Regions from separate parts of the Homo sapiens genome. Here region 1 is linked to region 2. Evidence: promoter capture Hi-C in 16 types of primary human blood cells and fetal thymus (Javierre and others, 2016). All regions are on one chromosome and are shown on one strand. Each heading gives the region's core, a stretch centred on a gene start or on the middle of the fragment in contact. The rest is flanking DNA. Distances are from core to core; before and after follow the strand shown.

Region 1 (4,608 bases), core at 1,795-4,294, 370 kb before region 2:
AGTGCAGTGGCAAGATCTTGGCTCACTGCAACCTCTGCCTCCCAGGTTCAAGTGATTCTCCTGCCTCAGCCTCCCGAGTAGCTGGGATTACAGGCGCACGCCACCACGCCCTGCTAATTTTTATATTTTTAGTAGAGACAGCGTTTTGGCACTTTGGCCAGGCTGGCCTTGAACTCCTGACCTCAGGTGATCCACCCATCTCGGCCTCCCAAAGTGCTGGGATTACAGGCGTGAGCCACCGTGCCCAGCCTAAAAATATTATTTTAAGTGAGTTACCACCGAGGAAAAGTAAAGCTTTGTCTAAAATCTCAGGGCTACGTTTATCTTACGACTTTCTGTGCCTGACACCATCATACACACCTGGGCTTATAAACTTGAATTTGAAAAGTCTAGCTTCAAGATCAGTCAGCTTTCACTCTGGATATATTTATTGTCCGTCTGCTATGAGCCAGACCTCCAGTTCTGTGGCGGTAACACAAGGAAATCTTTCTCCAAACTCTAACATGAATCTCTTTTTTTTTTGAGATGGAGTTTTGCTCTTGTTGCCCAGGCTGGAGTGCAATGGCGCGATCTTGGCTCACCGCAACCTCCGCCTCTCAGGTTCAAGTGATTCTCATGCCTCAGCCTCCCCAGTAGCTGGGATTACAGGCATGTGCCACCATGCCCGGCTAATTTCGTATTTTTAGTAGAGATGGGGTTTCTCCATGTTGGTCAGGCTGGTCTCGAGCTCCCCACCTCAGGTGATCCGCCCACCTCGGCCTCCCAAAGTGCTGGGATTACAGGCATGAGCCACCGCGCCCAGCCTTCTAACATGAATCTCTTTATGGCCATGTTTTTACAGATCCCCAGCCATGCCTTGGGCAGGTAAGGAAAGAATGCTAGCTGAAACGATGGGGAGAATTATGTCTGGCAGTATGGAATTGGGCAAAAATGAATTGGATGCAGGTTTCCCGCAGAACAATCGTGAGACTGTTATGGAATAAGCCTTTGTTCTTTGCAATCAGAGTCCTGGTTTTACACCACCCAGATTGTCTCATTAGGATGTCTTTTTTTCAGGACATCTGTGGTCACTTGTGTGAATGTGACACTGTAGGGTCAAGTGGAGGGCTCAATGAAGAGAGAAGTTAAAGTTCCCCACAGCCCTAGAATGGGACAGTTTGCTGTTGATTATGTAGTTAACTGCTGGTGATCTGTGCTGCTGGTGATCCTGGACTTGAGTTGGTCACAGTCCCCACCTTTGCAATTTTCATCTTATCCATGCACCACCTTTATTAGTATTATTATTATGTTTACTTTAAACAGACTATTTATTTAACCTTCTCCTAAGTAATATTAGCCTTGAAATAATGAGTTTAAAATACTAATTCCATTTTCCTTCAGTGCATATTAAAATAAATACCTAACTACCATAATAAAAAAAGTGTGTGTCACCTAAAATCTGGCAGGGTATGTCCTATACTTTGGGCAACACCATGCTCTCTAATTGCTCTACACTCACTTTCCTGCCAGGGTACTAGGTAATGAGTACACATACAGGATGGGGCAGAGATAGGAGATGGGAAGTGAGGCATCTCTGACCCAGAGTTCTGGGTGTGCTTAAGAAAAAAAAAAAAGAATCTCATAGCAGAGATCCTGTGGTGGTATCTAATTGTGGTTTTATTTTGCATTTCTCTGATGACTAATAACATTGAATACTTTTTAATGTGTTTATTGGCTATCTGTAGATCTTCTTTTGTGAAGCAGCTTTCAAATCTTTTGCCTATTTTTTATTAGATTTTAAAAAATTATTTTGTTGTTGAGTTATAGGAGTTCTTTAACCTACTTATCAGTCCTTTGTCAGATATATGTGTCGTGAATACCTTCTGACAATTTATGGCTTACCTATTTGTTTTCTTAATGGTGTCTTTTGATAACCAAAAGTTTTGATGAAGTCTAATTTATCACTTTTTTCTGTTGTAGTTACTGCTTTCTATGTTCTAAGTAACTTTGCTTACCACCAAGTTATGAAGACATTCTACTCAGTTTCCTTCTAAAAAGCTTAATGACATTAGCGTTTGCATTTAGTCCTGTAATCTATCTTGAATTAGTTTTTGTATGTGGTGTGAGATGGGGGTCAAAGTAGATTTTTTTCCGTATGGCTATTCATTTATTCCAGTGCATCATTTCTTGAAAAGTTTTTTAGATTGTTTTGTTGCCTTTGTGAAAAATCACATAACCATTTAAGTGTAGGTCTATTTCTGGACTCTATTGTACTTTGATTTGTTTGTCTGTCTTCACACCAATATCGCACTGTCTTTATTAGTAGCTTTATAAAGTAAGTTTTGAAGTCAAGTAGTGTAAGTCCTCCAACTTTGTTCTTTTCCAGTATTGCTTTGAATATTCTTGATCCTTTGTAGTTCCATATAAATTTTAGAAGCAGCTTTTCAATTTCTACAAAAAAAATAAATCCTGGGATTATGATTGGGATTACATTGAATCTATACTATAGCTCAATCGAGGGAAAACTGACTCTTAACAATATTGAGTTTTCCAATCTATGAACTTAGCACATCTCTTCACTTATGTATTTTTAAGTTTTTAGTATAGAGGTCTTGTACATATGTTGTTAAATTTATTTCTAAGTATTTTATGTATTTTGATGCTATCATAAATGATATTTTTAATTTGTTGCTAATATATTAACATAATTAGTTTATGTATATTCATCTTGTATCTTGCAACCTTGCTAAACCTTCTTATTAGTCCTAGTGGTTGTTTTATAGACTCCTTAGGATTTCCTACATAAAAAATCATGTCAGCTAAGAATAAAGATAGTTTTACTTCTTTGTTTCTACTCTTTATACCTTTTTCTAACCTTTATGTTCTTTTTCTTAACTTATTACACTGGCTACAACTTCCAGTAAAATGTTGAGTAGAAGTGGTGAGAGTGGACATCCTTGCCTCGTTCTGATCATGGTGACAAATCATTTCATATTTCTCTAGTAAGTATGGTGTTAGCTGTGGGTTTTTCCATACACATCCTTTACTGTGTTGAGGAAATTCCTCCTGTTCCTAGTGTGGTGAATGGTTTTATCAGGAGTGGTTGTTAAATTTTGTCAAGTGCTTTTTCTGCATCCACTGAAATGATTTTATAGTTTTTCTTCTTCATTCCGTTAGTGTGGGGAATTATACTGATTGATTTTTTTGAATATTAAACATAAAAAGCTATAAATTTCCCTCTAAACATTACCTCAGCCTCACCCAATATATTTTTTAACATGGTTTTAACATGTTCATGTAGATTTTTATTTTCCAGGAATGGATTATTTGGCCCATGGATCAATCAGTTGGTAGAATACAGATTGTAGATAGTATAAATGAATGGTTACACCCAAATGTTGGCAATTTGAGACAATTTGTGAAACAGCAGGAATGGCAAAGTCTTTGTTTCATCAGCAACTTCCTAATGGAATTTGTTGACGGAAGTGATTTGATTTTTATCCATTTAGTGATGCTTATATCATGGCAAAGTCCAAGCCATTCACATTTCCCTTCAGGTGTGTTCTAATTCATGATCTTAAATCATGATAGGCTATTTCCTTAAAGTGATGTCATTGTTTCCACCTGGGCAGAGGAAGATGATGAGTGTTGGCGATGGCAGAGGAAGGGGATGGACACAAGTCCAGGAATAAGGAAGGCAAATGTCAGCCAGCACTGTCAGCCACCTCCCTTGTGTGCGGGCACTGGGCTAGATCACCTGCATGTGTTAGGTGTGAGTCCACAGCACTGAGGAGATGGAGGTCTGTAGGAAGTAAATCATCTGCTGCAGGTGACATGAGTAGGGGCAGAAACGAGGCTGGAGCCAGGTCTGCTAGCCCTCAAAGCTGGTGGACTTTTCCCAGGCAGTATCTACCTTTTTTTATCATGCAACATGAGGATATCTACATTTTGGAGTGAGTGTGAGCTTTGAGGATAAAGTTGTAACAGAAGTTTCCAGGATAATCCATTAATTGATACCACCTATCTTATTGATTTAATAATTGAGCCACTGTTATACTTGGCCAGTTGAATATCAAGCTTGGCATTCCATTAGATAGGAAACCTGGTTTTGGAATAAATCAATAATCCCAGGAATTCTTAACAGGAAACATGGTTACCAAATGTAAATGAAACACTAGAGTTATTTATAGGAGTATTGTATTAGATAGTTCTCTAAGTGGGCTGCAAAGCAGCTCTGTGAAGTGAGTCCTATTTTCTCAGTGACTTGCATATTCTAAGATTAAGTGATGTATTCCCAAGGAACAAGTCCTTTGTAAACAGTGGTTAACTTTTGTAAGGAAGGAATATAGAAGATTCTGGACAGTGTCACGGAATAAAACTATTAAGAGCACAGATTCTAGCACCATACTACTTGAATCCTGGCTCCATCACTTGCTTGTTTTGGGATCTTAAGCTGGTGACTTACCCACTTTTTACCTCAGCTTCTTATCTGTAAAATAAGGATAATAATATTGTATGTACTTATGACAGTCATTGTAAGGATTAATGAATTAGTATGTAAAGTACTTAACACAAAGCCTGTTGCATAGTCAACTCTCAATAAATATTAACTGTTATTATTGCTATGGT
Region 2 (4,291 bases), core at 842-3,341:
AAGCCCAGCAGTGGGGACACTACCCAGAGAAAGAAACAGAGCTGAGGCTCCACCCGTGCACCCGCCCCACCCAGCCACCCAGCACGTCCACGAGCCACGCGCCAAGGGCAGTTCTGGTTTCCACAGATAAGCATTTAAGGAAGAATGTTCAGGAGTCCTGCTGTATTCTTCACCAGACTTGTCTCAGAGCAGCTGCTCACCCAGGAGCTCCATGGCCACAGGGATGCCCAGGACAGGGACGACTGCTTGCCCACTGCCGTGCTCTGGGGCTCTGGGCAGTCCCTCGGCCTCACCCACTGCTCAGATTTTCTGCAGGAAAAATGGGAGAGCCACCCTTTCAAAGAGTGACCCGGGCCCGGTTCCTCCTCAAAGCCTTTCGGAATGAATCTCCCAGTTCCCCACTGACTGGACATAGAACCTCTGCTCTTTCCTTCTCTAAGGCTGTGCTAGTCCATTATTCATTAAAAGACAAAATGAGGCCGGGTGCAGTGGATCACGCCTGTAATCCCAGCACTTTGGGAGGCCAAGGCGGGCGGATCATGAGGTCAGGAGATCGAGAACATCCTGGCTAACACGGTGAAACCCCATCTCTACTAAAAATACAAAAACAAAATTAGCCGGCTGTGGTGGCGGGTGCCTGTAGTCCCAGCTACTCAGGAGGCTGAGGCAGGAGAATGGCGTGAACCCGGGAGGTGGAGCTTGCAGTGAGCCGAGATCGTGCCACTGCACTCCAGCCTGGGCGACAGAGAGAGACTCTGTCTCAAAAAAAAAAAGACAAAATAATTGTCTTTTAATGACTTTAAAAGACATTGAGGTGGGTGTGGGGCTCATGCCTGTAATCCCAGCAATTTGGGACGCCGAGGTGGGAGGATCACTTGAGCCCAGGAGTTTCAGACCAGCCCAGGCAACGTAGCAAGACCCCATCTCTACAAAAATGTTTAAAACCTAACCAGGAATGGCAGTGCATGCCTGTAGTCCCAGCTACTCAGGAGGCTGAGGTGGGAGGATTGCTTTAGCCCAGGAGGTTGAGGCTGCAGTGAGCTATGATAGCACCACTGCACTCCAATCGGAGTGGCAGAGTGAGACCCCAACTCAAAATAAAATTAAAAGACAAGAGGCCAGGCGCAGTGGCTCATGCCTGTAATCCCAGCACTTTAGGAGACTGAGGTGAGCAGATCGTGAGGTCAGTAGTTCAAGACCCGCCTGGCCAACATGGTGAAACCCCATCTCTACTAAAAATACAAAAATTAGCTGGGCATGGAGGCGCATACCTGTAATCCCAGCTACTCAGGAGGCTGAGGCAGGAGAATTGCTTGAACCGGGAGGCAGAGGTTTCAGTGAGCCAAGATCATGCCACTGCATTCCAGCCTGGGTGACAGAGCAAGACTCCATCTCAAAAAAAATTAAAAGACAAAATGTGGACACACACATGGCCCCAGCAAGCAAGATTGATTACTAACTTCGTGGTGGCGTGCACATGCACACGATGTTCCACAAGCTCATCATCTATTCGAGTCGAGAGTATTCAGTTATCAGCCTCAGAAATCCAGAAGGAACCTCACATCCCAGGAGCCTCTGGCATTTCAGGGCCTTTCACTCCAAGGAGCCGCCTCCACCGGGCCTTCCCCAGCAGGATGTATATGGCCCTGTCTGTGTGCTAGGAGGAGAAGGGCAGGCCCGTGTGCTGTCTGGTGCTAGGTGTGAGACCACAGCCTTTCTGGAAAGGCTTTGTACTGTGCTGCTGGTGTGCAGACCCCGTGCGTGGTAGGGGCTTCAAGAATACGCATCAAATGAACCCGAACCCAAGGACGCTTGCTCACCTGTGTCATCTGGGGGTCTCCTTCCACAGGAAGCACATCTGGGCAGAGTGAAGGCTCCCAGGGCTCAGGTCCAGAAAGAGCTGGAGGCTCCTGAGAGCAAGGGGCCCTACTCGGCCATGAGCCCAGAACAATGCGAGCTTCACACACCGCAGGTGTGTGCGTGTGGGAGCCTCTTCCTGAAGCCTTGGGGTCAGGGGCCGGGGCCCAGCAGGCTGGGTTTATTGTCCATTGTCTCAGGCCGGGACAGGAAGCACTTTCTGTTCCCAATTGCTCGGGTGGATTAATTTACAGTGGGGAGCTCAGAGTCGCCCACGGCACCTGTTTTCCCCTCTGAGGGGCCAGCTTCCAGCTTGGAGGGTGTTTCAGGAGGGGTCTCCTCTGCAGAGACGTGGCCTCCTCCAGAGACCCTTGGCCACAGCCCCTGCCCGCTCCGTGCTGGGCCGAGGCCAAGGCCCTGGCAGCCCTGCCTGCTTGCCCGGGTCACGCTGCCCACCCACGGGGAAAGCTGAGCCCTGTGGAGTGCACACCATGCTGTCAGCAGTGAGCCATGGTGAGGCAGCCTCAGCAATGTGTCTTCTCTTTGGTTGGGAATCCGCTCTCTCTTCCAGGTTCAGGGGCAGGTGATGTATGCTTGTTTTCATTTGGTGAAGATCGTGAGTCCCATTTTACAGATAAGGACGCTGAGGCTCAGCAAGGTTGACTACACAGGTCGCGAATGAAGTGGTGGGATGCAAACCCGAGTCTGCTCCAGGTCCCAGAGCTCTCAACCTCAAATGTCTCAGGAGCCAACGAAAGCTTGTGACTGAGTGTCACCAGCTGGTGTACAAAGGGGGAGTGGCAGGAGGTGGAGGAGAACCCAGGGGTGCAGGCAGGGGGGACCCTGTGCCATCTCCAAGGGCAGCACTGCTCTACCCAGCCTGCCATGCCTTGAAGTAAGGTGGACCTTGTGTGGCCACATTTTTCCTTGTTAGTAACTCAGAAGATACATTTCTAGACACGGGGTAGGTCACAAAAGCCTGTCTGCAGGCGGCACATTGCTTTCCACCTCTGCTCTGTGCCACCATGCCAACACCAACAGTGAGCACCTGCTATATGCAGGTGCTGCCCGGGCACCTCCACAACGGGGACCCATCCTGTGTCTTCAGGCCCCCCCAGGCAGCAGGCACTGTGCTTCCTGTGGACACACAGGGGACTGAGGCTCAAAAGAGCAGGCTCCTGACCCTGGGCACCAGGCTGGTCTCGGCTTGCTCACTCCACCCCTGCATCCCTGCATCGGTTTTTCATCACCACTAATGCAGGAGGCTGAGGAAGAATTCTGGAGTCTGGTGGAGGATGGGGAAGCTGACCCTATTTCTATAGGTACCTCCCTCATTTTTGTAGGATGGCTCCAAGTCAGCCACCGAGACTGCCCCCTCTGCACTAACCATTAGCCAGCACTACCAGGATTGGCCAGCTTGCTCTGTGCCACTTGTTTTATTTATTTGTTTGCTGGAGACAGGGTCTCGCTCTGTCACCCAGGCTGGAGTGCAGAGGTGCAATCATAGCTCACTGCAGCTTCCACCTCCTGGGCTCAAGTGACCCTCCCACCTCAGCCTCCTGAGTAGCTGGGACTATAGGTGGGCGCCACCACATCCAGCTTTTTTTTTTTATTTTTTGCAGAGACAGGGTCTCGCCATGTTGCCCAGGCTAGTCTTGAACTTCTGGCCTCAAGCCATCCTCCTGCCTCAGCCCCCCAAAGTGCTGGGATTACAGATGTGAGCCACTGCACCTGGCCTATGCCACTTGTGTACTCCACCAAAATAAGCTTGATTCCCTGACTTCGGTGGCTTAAGATGGCTGAGCTCTCACCCTCTCTGCCCAGGCCCCTGCCCACCTGCCCTCTGCCCCAACAGCCACCTCTGCTAGGCTGCTTCCTCCTACTCAGGCAGGGTGGATGGTTCATTGTGTGGCCCCGGATCCAGGTTCCCCCACTGCCTCCCTGAGTGACAGGGCTGCCCTTTGTGGAGGGGGAGATTAGAGGCGGGCTGGAGGCTGCGCAGCCCTCCCTGGATGACAGGAGACATCAGCCCCGCACACCGCAAGGGCCTGGAGCGAGGAAAGCCTTGACAGGCCTGGAGGGGATCCAAGAGGGGAGCCAAGGAGGGGGCAGGCTCCTCACACACAAAGGCCGGGCCTGTCTTCACACCTGCGGGGATGAACAGAGCCCAGGGCCGGGAGAGGTGGGGGCTGTGGGGGGATGAATAATTCGCTCTGAAAGAAGCATGTCACAGGGAGATAGCTCAGCCAGACACTTCAAATAAAGGCAAGCAGCCGTGGTGACAGGGGACATTCTTTGCCACCGATGCACCGCTGGGACCTAAGAGCTGAGATGTTGTGAAAGAAAGGCGCCTTGAACCCTTCATAGTTATTTTTATTTTAAAAAAAGAGAGAGAGAGAGGGAAAATAACACCACAGAAGCAAGGATGGGCCTC

The links. Contacts are between HindIII fragments. The CHiCAGO score rates a contact against its expected background, and 5 or more counts as called.
Region 1: a contact is called between a fragment that was not itself captured here and the fragment with the promoter of LINC01565 in region 2, in 2 of 17 cell types (erythroblasts and endothelial precursors). The highest score is 6.3, in erythroblasts.

What each region holds. Positions count from the first base shown.
Region 1 is chr3:128,199,784-128,204,391 of GRCh38, forward strand. All of the region lies in intron 1 of EEFSEC (eukaryotic elongation factor, selenocysteine-tRNA specific), which reads left to right. Among named protein-coding and RNA genes, the nearest start is that of EEFSEC, 49 kb to the left of the region's middle. The HindIII fragment of the contact is 2,019 bases long and covers 2,036-4,054 here.
Region 2 is chr3:128,573,995-128,578,285 of GRCh38, forward strand. It overlaps LINC01565 (long intergenic non-protein coding RNA 1565), which reads right to left and starts at 2,092. Exons shown (of 3, transcript NR_125802.1): 1 at 1,821-2,092; 2 at 1,272-1,392; 3 at 1-309. The HindIII fragment of the contact is 3,021 bases long and covers 1-2,613 here.